Regions from separate parts of the Homo sapiens genome. Here all the other regions are linked to region 1. Evidence: promoter capture Hi-C in 16 types of primary human blood cells and fetal thymus (Javierre and others, 2016). All regions are on one chromosome and are shown on one strand. The core of a region is centred on a gene start or on the middle of the fragment in contact, and the rest is flanking DNA. Distances in the headings are between cores, read along the strand shown.

What was found. The method cuts DNA at HindIII sites, captures the fragments that hold promoters and counts their contacts. A CHiCAGO score of 5 or more calls a contact.
Region 2: a fragment that was not itself captured here is called in contact with the fragment with the promoter of AFF2 in region 1 in 1 of 17 cell types (M0 macrophages); the score reaches 5.6 in M0 macrophages.
Region 3: a fragment that was not itself captured here is called in contact with the fragment with the promoter of AFF2 in region 1 in 1 of 17 cell types (M1 macrophages); the score reaches 5.9 in M1 macrophages.

Annotation. Positions count from the first base shown.
Region 1 is chrX:148,498,581-148,502,362 of GRCh38, forward strand. AFF2 (ALF transcription elongation factor 2) reads left to right here and starts at 2,037. Exons shown (of 21, transcript NM_002025.4): 1 at 2,037-2,564. The coding sequence starts at 2,518. RefSeq lists an enhancer at 2,697-3,574. The HindIII fragment of the contact is 5,176 bases long and covers 1-3,782 here.
Region 2 is chrX:149,292,112-149,296,014 of GRCh38, forward strand. No RefSeq gene overlaps it. Among named protein-coding and RNA genes, the nearest start is that of IDS, 210 kb to the right of the region's middle. The HindIII fragment of the contact is 6,670 bases long and covers 1-3,903 here.
Region 3 is chrX:149,466,070-149,469,805 of GRCh38, forward strand. No RefSeq gene overlaps it. Among named protein-coding and RNA genes, the nearest start is that of IDS, 37 kb to the right of the region's middle. The HindIII fragment of the contact is 5,578 bases long and covers 1-3,736 here.

The sequences.
Region 1 (3,782 bases), core at 787-3,286:
AGTGACCATAATCACCATTTAAATGTTAATTGTAGGTGTTCTGGCTTTCCTCTAAGGATTTTCAAGCAGATCAAGTACTAATGCTGGCAACCATCATCAGCAATCAAATCCAATTTGAGGATTTTTTACTGAAGGCATAAAGGTCGGGGGCCACAGATCTGAGCGAGGCCGTCCTTGTTGCTTTAAGGGCTCTCAGTCCAGGGCTGAATACTAGAATTCCATGAATAAATAAGTCACAGAGATAATTTGAAAATCCCCAGCACCATTTTTGCCAATAACTGTTTCTCCATAGAGTCTTTTTGACCAGAGGAGTTTACAGGTAGCCAAATCTACAAGCCACTTTGAGATGTCGTCTCCCCTTGGCTGCCCACTGGTTGATTTTCCATCAGTCAACCAGCATCTGTTGAGGACTTGGTCCCATGCAAAGTAAATAGACATCTAAGCAAAGTCCCAGTGGATGCTTGAGTTGCAGAATCTTAGAGCCTTGTTTCTCTATGTTAATGATGTGCTTTCTTTCCCCCCGTAAAACAATGTGAAAGAGACCAGACCCTGGGCCCCTTGTAGCTCAAATGCTGAAGTCATTCATGCTTGGAGCTGAGGCACCTTCTACTGGCTCCAGCCCTGGAAGAGCTTCCCAGGTTCTAGGTTCTAATCTGGGATCCCCCTCTAGGGGAAATATCAGATCTTGAGCATTTTAATGTCTTAGGGTCTCTGTTTCTTCAGGAAAAAAATGAAGTTAAAAGGTATTTGGATGATTTTGGTAATATGAGATAATACTGTAGAAGCATATTCAAATAGAAGGGAGAATGTCAGAGAAGTATGAGCCAGAGGGCTGCTGGGTGTTTTATGGAGAAACTGAGGCCCAGATAAGTGACTTGCTTGGAGTCACACACAGAGCTACCGGCACCCTGCTCTGTCAGGGCTCAGTCTGCTGTCCTTCCCAAGAGAGTTCTAGCCTTAGGATTTGAAAAATGTGCCAATACTATTCCCTCTGTATAACGACACGAAGAAGGCAAATTACATGCCTAGGACTCCAGAATGCTCATGTCCTGAAATGCCAGAAAGCGGTCCCGCCCCTTCCCACAGACCTTTCTCTGCACGGAGGCCAGGGAACCTTTCCCTCCAGGGAATTGGCTAAAGGGATCCACTCCTTCCTGGATCAGAGGTGGAGGTTGAAGGGAGTAGGAGGCTCGGTTAAACCCTCCACGTGCAGAAAGAGAATTTCAGGCCAGAAGGGAGACGGGCAGCCGGTGCGTGGGATACTGGGCACACACCCAGTGGTTTTCCCATTTCTCAGAGGAGGAGCTAGCAGAAGTCTTTTGCTCAAGGCACCTGGTGACCGTGCGAGGAAAGTGACAGTGGAACCCAGTTTAACAGTATCCTAACCCCGAACTCAAGGACCACGCAAGGGCAGTCATTTGTTCCTATCCTTGCTGCCCACTGAATCCAGGGCCTATAGCTCGCTGACCTACTAGGTGCGCGCCTAAAGGCATGCCTGGAGGGCCTGGGTGCGGGCACGTGGAGCCACGGGGCTGGTGAAGGTGACCGCCTTCTCCTTCCTGGACCCGCGTGCTACGCACTACAGACCTGAGGGATGCTCAGGCCCGCAAAGTTTGCTCCACTACTCGGGGGCTCAAGGAGCTGTGCTTGAGGTGGCAGGGGGCGACCTTCAACCCCACGGCTGTTTGTGCTGTCTTTTCTAGTTCAAAACTAATTCCCAGTGGTGGGGGTGGGCTGGGCTTCAGAGAGGGGTCCCATTCCCGAAGCCCGCGTCCTGGTCCCGCCAGCCCACCTCCTGTATCCCTGCCACGGCCCCTGCGTCCCGGGTCCGGGTCCGGGTCCTCAGCTCTGTGGCCGCTCCCACTAGCTGATTTTGACAGTGGGGGGTGGGAGAGGGTTCCCGAAAGGCAGGGGCGGGCGCGGCGAGCCCCTGCCAGATCCGGGGATGATAACGTGCCTGCTCCATGTCGCGGCTTCTAGCTGTCCAGGCTCCGCCCCCTGTGAGTGTGTAAGTGTGTGATGCTGCCGCGGCCGCCGCCGCCGCCTGTGCAGCCGCTGCCGCCGCCGCCGCCGCCGCCGCCGCCGCCGCCGCCGCCGCCGCCGCTGCCGCCCCGGCTGCCGCGCCGCGCCGCTGCCTCTGCCCCGGCCGCCCCCGCCGCCGCTGCCGCCGCCGGCCCGCAGCCAGCCAGGCGGGCGGCCCAGCCCGCCTGAGCCCGCAGCGGCTGCCGCCGCAGCGTCGGGTCGCTGGGTGCGCGGGCTACCGCGGACCGAGCGGACCCGAGTGGGCGACCAGGCGCTTGCCCGCCCAGTGCCACTGCCGCCGCTTCCTCGCCGGAGCACAGGACCAGACACCTCCAGCGCCCGCTGCTGCTGCCGATGCGGCCCGGACACTTTTAGCTGGGCGGGAGGGCTGGAGAGCCGGGGGCCGCCGAGAACCGCCAGCGAGCTGTGCCGAGAGCCGCGCCGACCCGCTGCGATCAGGGACAGGCGCCCGCCCGCCGCCGCCGCCTGGCCGCTATGGATCTATTCGACTTTTTCAGAGACTGGGACTTGGAGCAGCAGTGGTAGGTGTTGATTTTTGCCTTCTCCTTTGATGAGCGAGTCTCCTGGCGAAGTCTGAGGTTTTCGCCTTTGTTAAGAGGAGCTGAAGCTGTCGTGGGGGGCGCCCCGGACTCCCTCCCACTTGCTCTCAGCCACCTCTGGCCCCGGCCGCGCTGACTCCTAGGTCGGATGCCGGGGTGGGGGGAGGTGCGGGAAGAGGGAGGGATGCGGACCCGAAAGCGTCGCTTTGCGCTCCAAGTCTAAAGAGTTGCATTTGGCTCACATCGAATTCGGTGCCGCCCGAGGGCTGAACCGCACGACCTCCCAGGAGCTTTTCTCTCGGAGCGGCTTGCCGGTCTGGCCTCCTTGAGCCCCGGATGCCGCCCGCCCGAAATGTCTCAACTTTCCAGGTGCCCAACGCCCGCGGCGGGCCATGGGGGAAAGGCAACGGCCAGGTGCGGCCAGCAGCCCTCTGCTTCCTTGGTGGCCACCGCCCCCGCTGCCGCCACCTCCATCCCTGCGCTGCGCGGCGCGCACACCTTTCCTTCTGCCGACTCAGCCCAAGTTCCCTGCACTCCCGGGTGGAGCAGCGGCTTTGGGGGCCACCACTCAGGGGACCTTGGTTCGAGGCCGACTTCGGCGCTTGGCTTTCAAGACTGAGGGTTTTCGGAGTTGGCCCCCCAAATCCGCAGCTCTGATGTCAATGCACATTTAATTACCGGATGGACCCCCTTCGGCCTCCCACTGGGAGGCAGCCGTAGTTTTTTGTAAGGGACCTCCAGCTCAGATTCAAAGGTTGAGTCAGCTCTTCACAAAATACCCTAAACTTGTCGCTGAGACATTTTGAAAGATGGTAGAAAGGTGACTGGGGACCTGGAAAGTTGTTAACTCTCTTAGAGATGTGCGTGCGCGTGTGCATAAATACTGATATACATATCTATTAACTTTTCAAAAACTTCACCTACTACAAACATTATCACAGTTTATTTGTCATAATACTTAAACGTATCAGATTCCCCCCGCAGTCTAAGGAATTAGATGGGGAGGGGGCGCAGTGGTAACCGCTTAAAATTGCATTCTTGGTTATTGCCTTTTAAAATGTATTTAGAATGATCTGTAGTACCTACCAATAGTGCGAAATCTTTTGCAATGTTAAACTACTAGCGGCCGTTGGTTATGAATGCTGTGTATTTTTACAAGGATTTCCCCTGTTGATGTGATATTTTAGGCAATTTCCTTCT
Region 2 (3,903 bases), core at 1-2,500, 790 kb after region 1:
ACTAGGGTTTAGGACTTTAACATATGAATTTAGGGGTTGTCTCAGTCTGTTTTCTGTTGCTTACAACAGAATATCTGAAACTGGGTAATTTATAAAGAAAAGAAATTTATTGCTTACAGTTGTGGAGGCTGAACTGTCTCTCTTTTTCTTTCTATAAAGCCACCAGTCCCAATTCCACGATAACCCATTAATCCATTAATCCATCAATCTATAAATGAATTAATTGGCCACGCACGGTGGCTCACGCCTGTAGTCCCAGCACTTCGGGAGGCTGAAGCAGGCAGATTGCTTGAGGTCAGGAGTGCAAGACCACCTGGCCAACATGGTGAAGCCCCGTCTCTACTAAAAATACAAAAATTAGCCAAGCGTGGTCGTGGGCACCTGTAATCCCAGTTACTTGGGAGGATGAGGCAGGAGAATTGCTTGAGCCCAGGAGGCGGAGGTTGCAGTGAGCCAAGATTGTGCCACTGTACTCCAGCCTGGGCAACAGAGTGAGACTCTGTCTCAAAAAAAGAAAAAAAAGAGAATTAATCAATTCATGATGGCAGAGCCCTCATGACCCAATCACCTCTCAAAGGCCCCATCTCTCAATACTGCCAAATTGGGGTTAAGTTTCAACATGAGGTTTGGAGGAGACAAAATTTCAAACCATATAGCGGGGCTATGGACAAAATTCTACCCGTAACGGTAAGTATAATTAGAGGCCAGAGGTCAGAAATAAATAGTGAGGTCGCAAAAGCCCAAAGGGCTTTCTGAGTGAGACGGGTGCTGGAAAGGGGATAGGGAAGGCAGCTCTGCCCCTTGTTTTCCCAGTCTCTGCCTCTCTGGGTCGTTGGGGAGGAGATGAGAAGAAACACTTTTCCCTCATAGGCAAACACATGTGGCTAGACTTACTGAAGCACCAGGGGTAACAATGCTCTTATTGTCCCCTTCCTTCTCCATCTTCCATGTGCATGTACTCACCAACAGGCATAACGGCATGGCCAGGAACGTCAAACTAGAAACCACCTCGAAGATACTAAACTTCACAAAGTGCTTTCCTTTTACAGTAGAATAAGCCAATTGTCCTTCAATGGACTGGCAGGACATGTAGCTCTCAGTTTCTATAGCTTCAGGGATATCCACAGAATAATAGCAGTTGAATGTCTTTTAAACTCAATTGCTGGTTTTATGCAATCCTATTTGGAGAGCAAGTGGCCCAGAGAGAAGGGACTTACCCAAGGTCACACAGTGAGTTAGAGACAGACTTGGAACTCAGTCCCCAGTTTCCACCTTCTTATAAGAACTATCAGATCATGGGGATACCCAAGCTCAATGTTGTTTTTTCTGTGCTAGCCTCCTTCTAGCATGCCATGTTGCTTACCTCAGTGGAAAGTTAGTAACAGGTTTTCCCACCATATATGGACCCTAAAGATATTCAACAGGGACCTCCTAGAAATACTGTCTTGCTCCAAAGAAGGGACAGCTTGTGGTGGTGTGCGTGTGTGTGTGTGTGTGTGTGTGAAGGGTGTGCATTTCCAGCATCGAAATATGAGCTTTGCACTAGTTGTGTATCTCCACCTTCCCTGTCAGTTGTAACTTCCTACTCTTTGGCAGCCCGGCCTTGATAACATATTGCCTCAAATCTCAGTGCTGCTTCTGCTCTGCTGGTAGGCCTAGGAATCAACGGCAAGTAACGACCTACTATGTGGAGGCCATGAGAAAGATTTCTGAATGAAGTCCACCTGCACATGGACTTTATTGCAACTACACCGGCTGCTGAGATGGTGGGAGGGATTTGACTTTTTCTCATTCTTGATTGAATATCAAACAGATGACAGGGTAGCCAGGTTTGAGATCTTAGATGGTGAGTAAGGAAGGATCTAGAGAACACAATGTCCAAGCTCAGGTTCTAGGGTGCTGAAAGCCTGGAGTACAGCAGAGTACTGGCAGCTGCTTGTTACTCAATAGAAGTGGTACTCAGACACTCGGATCTCACTAACGGTCTCAAAGGATGACATGTTCTCCAGAAACATGGCCTCTTCTTTGGTGAAGTCATTGACCCTGTGCCAAGATGCTTGTCAATTAGCCATTTGACGAAAAGGCAATTCTTCTAAATGTTTCCTCAGCAAGACCCACGACACAAAATTTGTCTGGGGACACTTGCATTTGTCACCTTTCTAACTGCCAGCTATTATTAAAGGCATTAGAATAGACCTAGAGTAACTATTTCACCATTAACATAAAGATGGCTTTTAAGTTGTCCTGGAATAAAAGAAATTGTGAGACTGTTCAAATGTAAGAGGTCAAGAACCCAAGTGAGTGGCTGTTTCATTTTTTTAAGTATCTAATAATTTGCATGTAAGAGATTTCATACAATGAAATGAGTTGAAAAATGAAGGTGGGAATAATGTTTATCTTACCTTTCTAAGTCACAAAAGGTACTACAGAACTGAAATGTCATACCAGCCCAATGAATTTTTATAAGCTACCCATTTTGTACTGTCTGTTAAATAATACTGTTCTTAGATTCATCATCAAAAATCCCTCAGAATCGTTCTTATTTTAAAATCTAACCAGAAAATATAGTTGACATCCAACTCATCAGCATTCTTATTAATGTGTGTCAAGCTATATGGCAGGTCCTATACTGTGTACCATATATTTTATCTCCTGCATCCTTGGCAACGACCCAGTGTGGCAGATATTAACACCATTTTATAGCTGGGGAAACTGAGGTCCAGAGAATTGAAATATCTTGCTCCAAGTCACACAACTAATAAGAGGTAGAGCCAGAATTTGAACTGAGGTATTTCTTCTTTTTTGCTACTATCTGTTCAATAATCAACCAATAGTAGCCATGTGGCTCTGCATAGACTATGGTGGGAAATCACTTGGCCAAGGTTTGCTCCCCCTTTGTAGAAGATGAGAGACCAGTTTTCACAGCCATATAAATTGTGAAATGCCTCTCTCGCATAATCTCATATTTGGTCCCATTGACAAGCCAATCCAACATTTTCTTCCAATGAGACATAGAAAGTTGGAATATTTATTTATGAGAACGAGTCTACATCACCTTCCAATTAGGGGCTCACATGCCCTACTTGGGCAGCCTACCTCCATAACATTAACACCTTGAGATGACTTGTATCTAGAGGCATACCATTTGTATTTACTGAATAAATAAATGAGATTATTATTCATTATTACAAAGGGGATGCTGCAAAAAGGGGGTCTCTGACAGTGAACTGGGTGAGACCCAAATGAGATGAAAGAGTTTTAGGAATGAAACAGTGTGTTTTCAGGAGCAGTGTGTTTCTCCAGCCCCAAGACCCTTTATAGAAACAAATTTGTTTGGAACAGATTTGCTGTGTTGATGAATTCACCCATTATGACTTGGGCAACATGGGTGAGACAACATGTTCTCCTGGCACAAATACCGATCTTAGATTCTCTTCTCTTCCTGTGGGTAGAAAGCATTTCTGAAAGAAATGGGAAACATCTGGGGAAAAATACAACAAAGCGGTGAACATCAGATGCCATCCACCAGATTAGCTCCTGAGATACATTTCCTGAGGAAGAAGAACACAACCTTAATGCAATTAGATGACAATACTGCAAGCCAACCAAGAAGCTAAAAGGTTTAGGTATCTCCCTAAGTTCTAAGTGGCTTTGTGTGCACCAGTTTAACTTTCCACCAAGATTTTAGGAGTGTGACATTGGAGCCTATGAATTTAGATAGCTCATTGGTTGTGGGACACTAACCACGCACCAGTATCAAGTATGTTTTTAGATCCCTCAAACATGAGGAGAATTCAGGTAGAGTATTGCATGCTACCACCTACTGCAGACTCGGACACAGCTCTGAATTTCTATTATGGCCTTATTTATAACTTTCAGACTTCATTAATTTGGGTAGAATTA
Region 3 (3,736 bases), core at 40-2,539, 970 kb after region 1:
TATACATATACATATCTACACACACACACATATATACACACATATACGTATGTGTGTGTATGTGTGTGTATATATATAGTTGTGTATATACCATGTGGTGTGTATGTTTGTGTGTGCATCTATATATGGGTTTACCCTTGAATAACATGGGTTTCGAGTGCACAGGTCCACTTATATAAGGATAAATTGACACCAATAAAATTTACACCAAGTGTGCCTGCCTCCCTTTCCACCTCCTCCACCTTTTCTACCTCTTTTACCCCTGAGACAGCAAAATCAACTCCTCATCTTCCTCCTCCTTCTCAGCCTACTCAACATGAAGACAATAAGGATGAAAATCTTTATGACAATCCACTTCCACTTAATGAATAGTAAATTAATTTTATCATCCATATGATTTCCTTAATAACATTTTCTTTTCTCTAGCTTACTTTGTTGTAAGAATACAGTATATAATATATATACAACCTATAAAGTATGTGTTAATTGACTGTTAATGTTAACCATAAACCTTCCAGTCAACAGTAGGCTATTGGTAATTAAGTTGTTGAGGAGTCAAAAGTTATACATGGATTTCTGACTATATGCAGGGTCTGCGCCCCTAACTGCATCATTGTTCAAAGGTCAACTACATACACACATATGTGTATATACACATATGTGTGTGTGTGTGTGTGTGTGTGTGTATATATATATATATATATATATATTTTCCTATTGGTTCTGTTTCTCTGGAGAATCCTGACTAATAAAACCTCCCAAATAAACTACTTGTATCTGAATCCTTGTCAGGCTCTGCTGCTAGGGGAGCTGAACTAAGACATCATCTTATAGATGAAGATTCAGATTCCACAGCGGAGAACAGGTAGGTGACTTGCTGAGGTCACAAGACTACTTAGATGTAAACCTCAGACTAGAAACCCTATCTCTTGACCTGCACTGCTTCCACCTATAAAGATCAGGCCAACACTTGCCTACTGATCCCCCACCCGGGTCCATGACAGCCTTTGTGGATTGGCCTTTTCCTCTGGGCCCAGTTGCATCCTCTGAATACACTCTCAGCAGTCTTTTGCAGTCAACAGGGCTTGGCATGCAAGAAGAAATCTACTTGCCATCCCTCTTCTGGACTGTATTCCAGTCCAGACTGAATTCAATTATGCTTTCCAAGCCTGCTCCACCTTATCCTACCCCACACATACTTACATGCTGATTGAAGCCTATTCCATTTCCTGATAGAGGTCCCCTCCCCAGCCCCATCAAAAATAAATAAATAAAACCCACACACATCAAAGGGACTGGAGCTTGAAATTAAGTATCACTCCTAGAGCCCAGATCTGATCAGCTGAGGATCTTGCCCCAGGCTCCTTTGAAGCCTTTCAGCCTAGTGTGTGCACGGCCAAGAGTAGGTGGTACTCTGTGTTGATGGATTAAGAAAATGAGCAAATGAATGAATGTACATCTTTAGGTAAAGTGAATTATTTTGAAGTCTCTTATTCCAGTGGCCTTTAGGGGAACTGGCCAAGAAAAGAACAAAAAAATCACAATACTGGTTATTCCTGAGTCCTCACACGTGAGCTCCGAGCTCATTCTAATATTTGCCAAAGTGCTTACAGATGCTGCAACTTCTCTTGTTACAGAATCTAACTAAAGCCATTGATTTAGGAAAGTGGATTGGCAAGATAAACTTGGCAAAGATGGCAAACCCTAGCAGGTTAGTAGCAGCAAAACTAGCTGGTGCAGGGACTTCTGGCCCAGTCAGGTTTCTTTGCACTGTCTCCTGGGACAAAGCTGTCTACATTGGTCTGGGCAGCTCCTAGAAAAAAGAGCCTTGGACAGGGTCTGCATTTAGCCTTAGCAAAAGTGTACCCCTATCCCCATGAATGCTGCAGCTCGGCAGCATACACAGCTGCAGCCCATCAAAAGAAGGATGAAAACCAAAGGGGCCTGGGCTGCATGTTGAGTGGGAAATGATGACAGAGACAGTGGAGCCTTCAACAGAGGAAACATTTTAGGAAACAAGTCTTGGCCTCTGCTCCCTCACCCCCACCTTTGACCCATCATCCTGTGAGAAGAGTGGCTCAGGGCCAGCTGGGGAAGCAAGGATGCTGGGAACTAGGAAATCTGAGTCCGGTTTTTCTTCTACATGAGTACGGACAGTTTGCCAAGGTCACTCAGATGGGGTCATTAACTGTGAATCAAAAGTCGTCTGGGCCAGGGATGAGGGGACCGGATTCCTAGTGTCAACATCACCACTAACCCCTAAGTGCCTCACCCAAGGTCAAGGGCTGTCCAAATGCATGACAATATTGCTGTAGTATAACCGTTCTAATACCTTGAGTTTAGTCTGAACAGTTCACATAGTCTGATCATATCCTAAAAACAACTCAGTGAGATAGATAGTACTATCATGCCCTTTTACACATGAGGAAACTAATTAAGGCTCAGAGAGGTTCATGCGCTTACCCAAAGCCACACGGCCAGTCAGGGTTGGAGTCAGAATTCACACTCCAAATTCAGGGCACATTCTCATATGCCACCGTTTCTCTCACGAGCTTTCAAATAAACATTAAAAAGTGATGAAATACATATTTTTCACACATTTGTCAGGACCTATTCTAAGTGTTGAGAATACAGTGGTAAGTAAGATGCCACAAGGTCCTTGCTCTCTGGACTTGACATTCTAGCAGGGAAGTGTACAATGACCCATTAACAAGAACAGAACTCAAGTTCAGAAAACGGTGGATGCTATGAAGGAAATGAAGCAAGGTAATCAGAGGGAGATGTGGCAGGTCTAAAGACTTGATGGCCAGGGAATGAGGCAGATGGTGCTTTCCACAACCCAGCATCTTTGGAGGAAATCCTGCTCCCCTGGCCGCTGAAGGTGATAACCTGTGGGGTGATCCCACATCTGCATACCTTCTGCCAGGAAGTGTTCCCCAGGCCTGGTCCTCATCATCCTGGAAGTGGCTGTCAAGCTACAGGCTGCCCTGGTACCACATAAGTCTGGGATTCTCTGCCCCTGAGGATGTCAGGAAATATATATGTGTATGAGGTTGGAGGTGGAAGATCCTTCAAAGCCTAGTGTCTACAAAAAGAAGGAAAGTAAATGCATAAGATGTATATTGCTGCTCACAATGAACACAGCTCCTATGTCCAGAACAGCTGGCTTCTTACAGGACTGTAGAGTATGACAGCTGGGAAGGATGGCCCCTAGATGGGAAGACCCGAGCCCAGAAAGGAGACTTATCCAGGGTCACCCACATGGCAGGGTCAGGATCAGGGTCACTTTCAGGTGGATCACACCCTTCTCCACGGCTCATGAACAAGGAAAAAGAGGAGAAGGCACACTTATGGAACAGATGCCAGACACTGCTCAGGCATCGTATGTTCTCAATACCCGCTCACTGAGGGCTCAAAAACCCACTCAAGAGGAGCACCTACTTTCCCCAATCCACTGAACAAACAGACCCAGAGAAGGGAAGTGGCTTGCACAATGTTGTCCAGCTCTCAAGTGGCAGAACAGGATCAATCTGGGGCCACGAGGGCTCTTCCCTTGCTGTTGCTCTTGAGATCCCCCGGCATTTTTTTCTGGGCTTCCTGAATTGCCAAGCAGACCCCCAAAAGGGAGCCAGAGATTGGAGGCTCTTCAGTTGCTCTTGTTTATCCACCAAGCCATAAAATACAAATTTCCAGGGATGCAGGTCACCACCGACTCATGGAGAGCTCCACCTAGAGT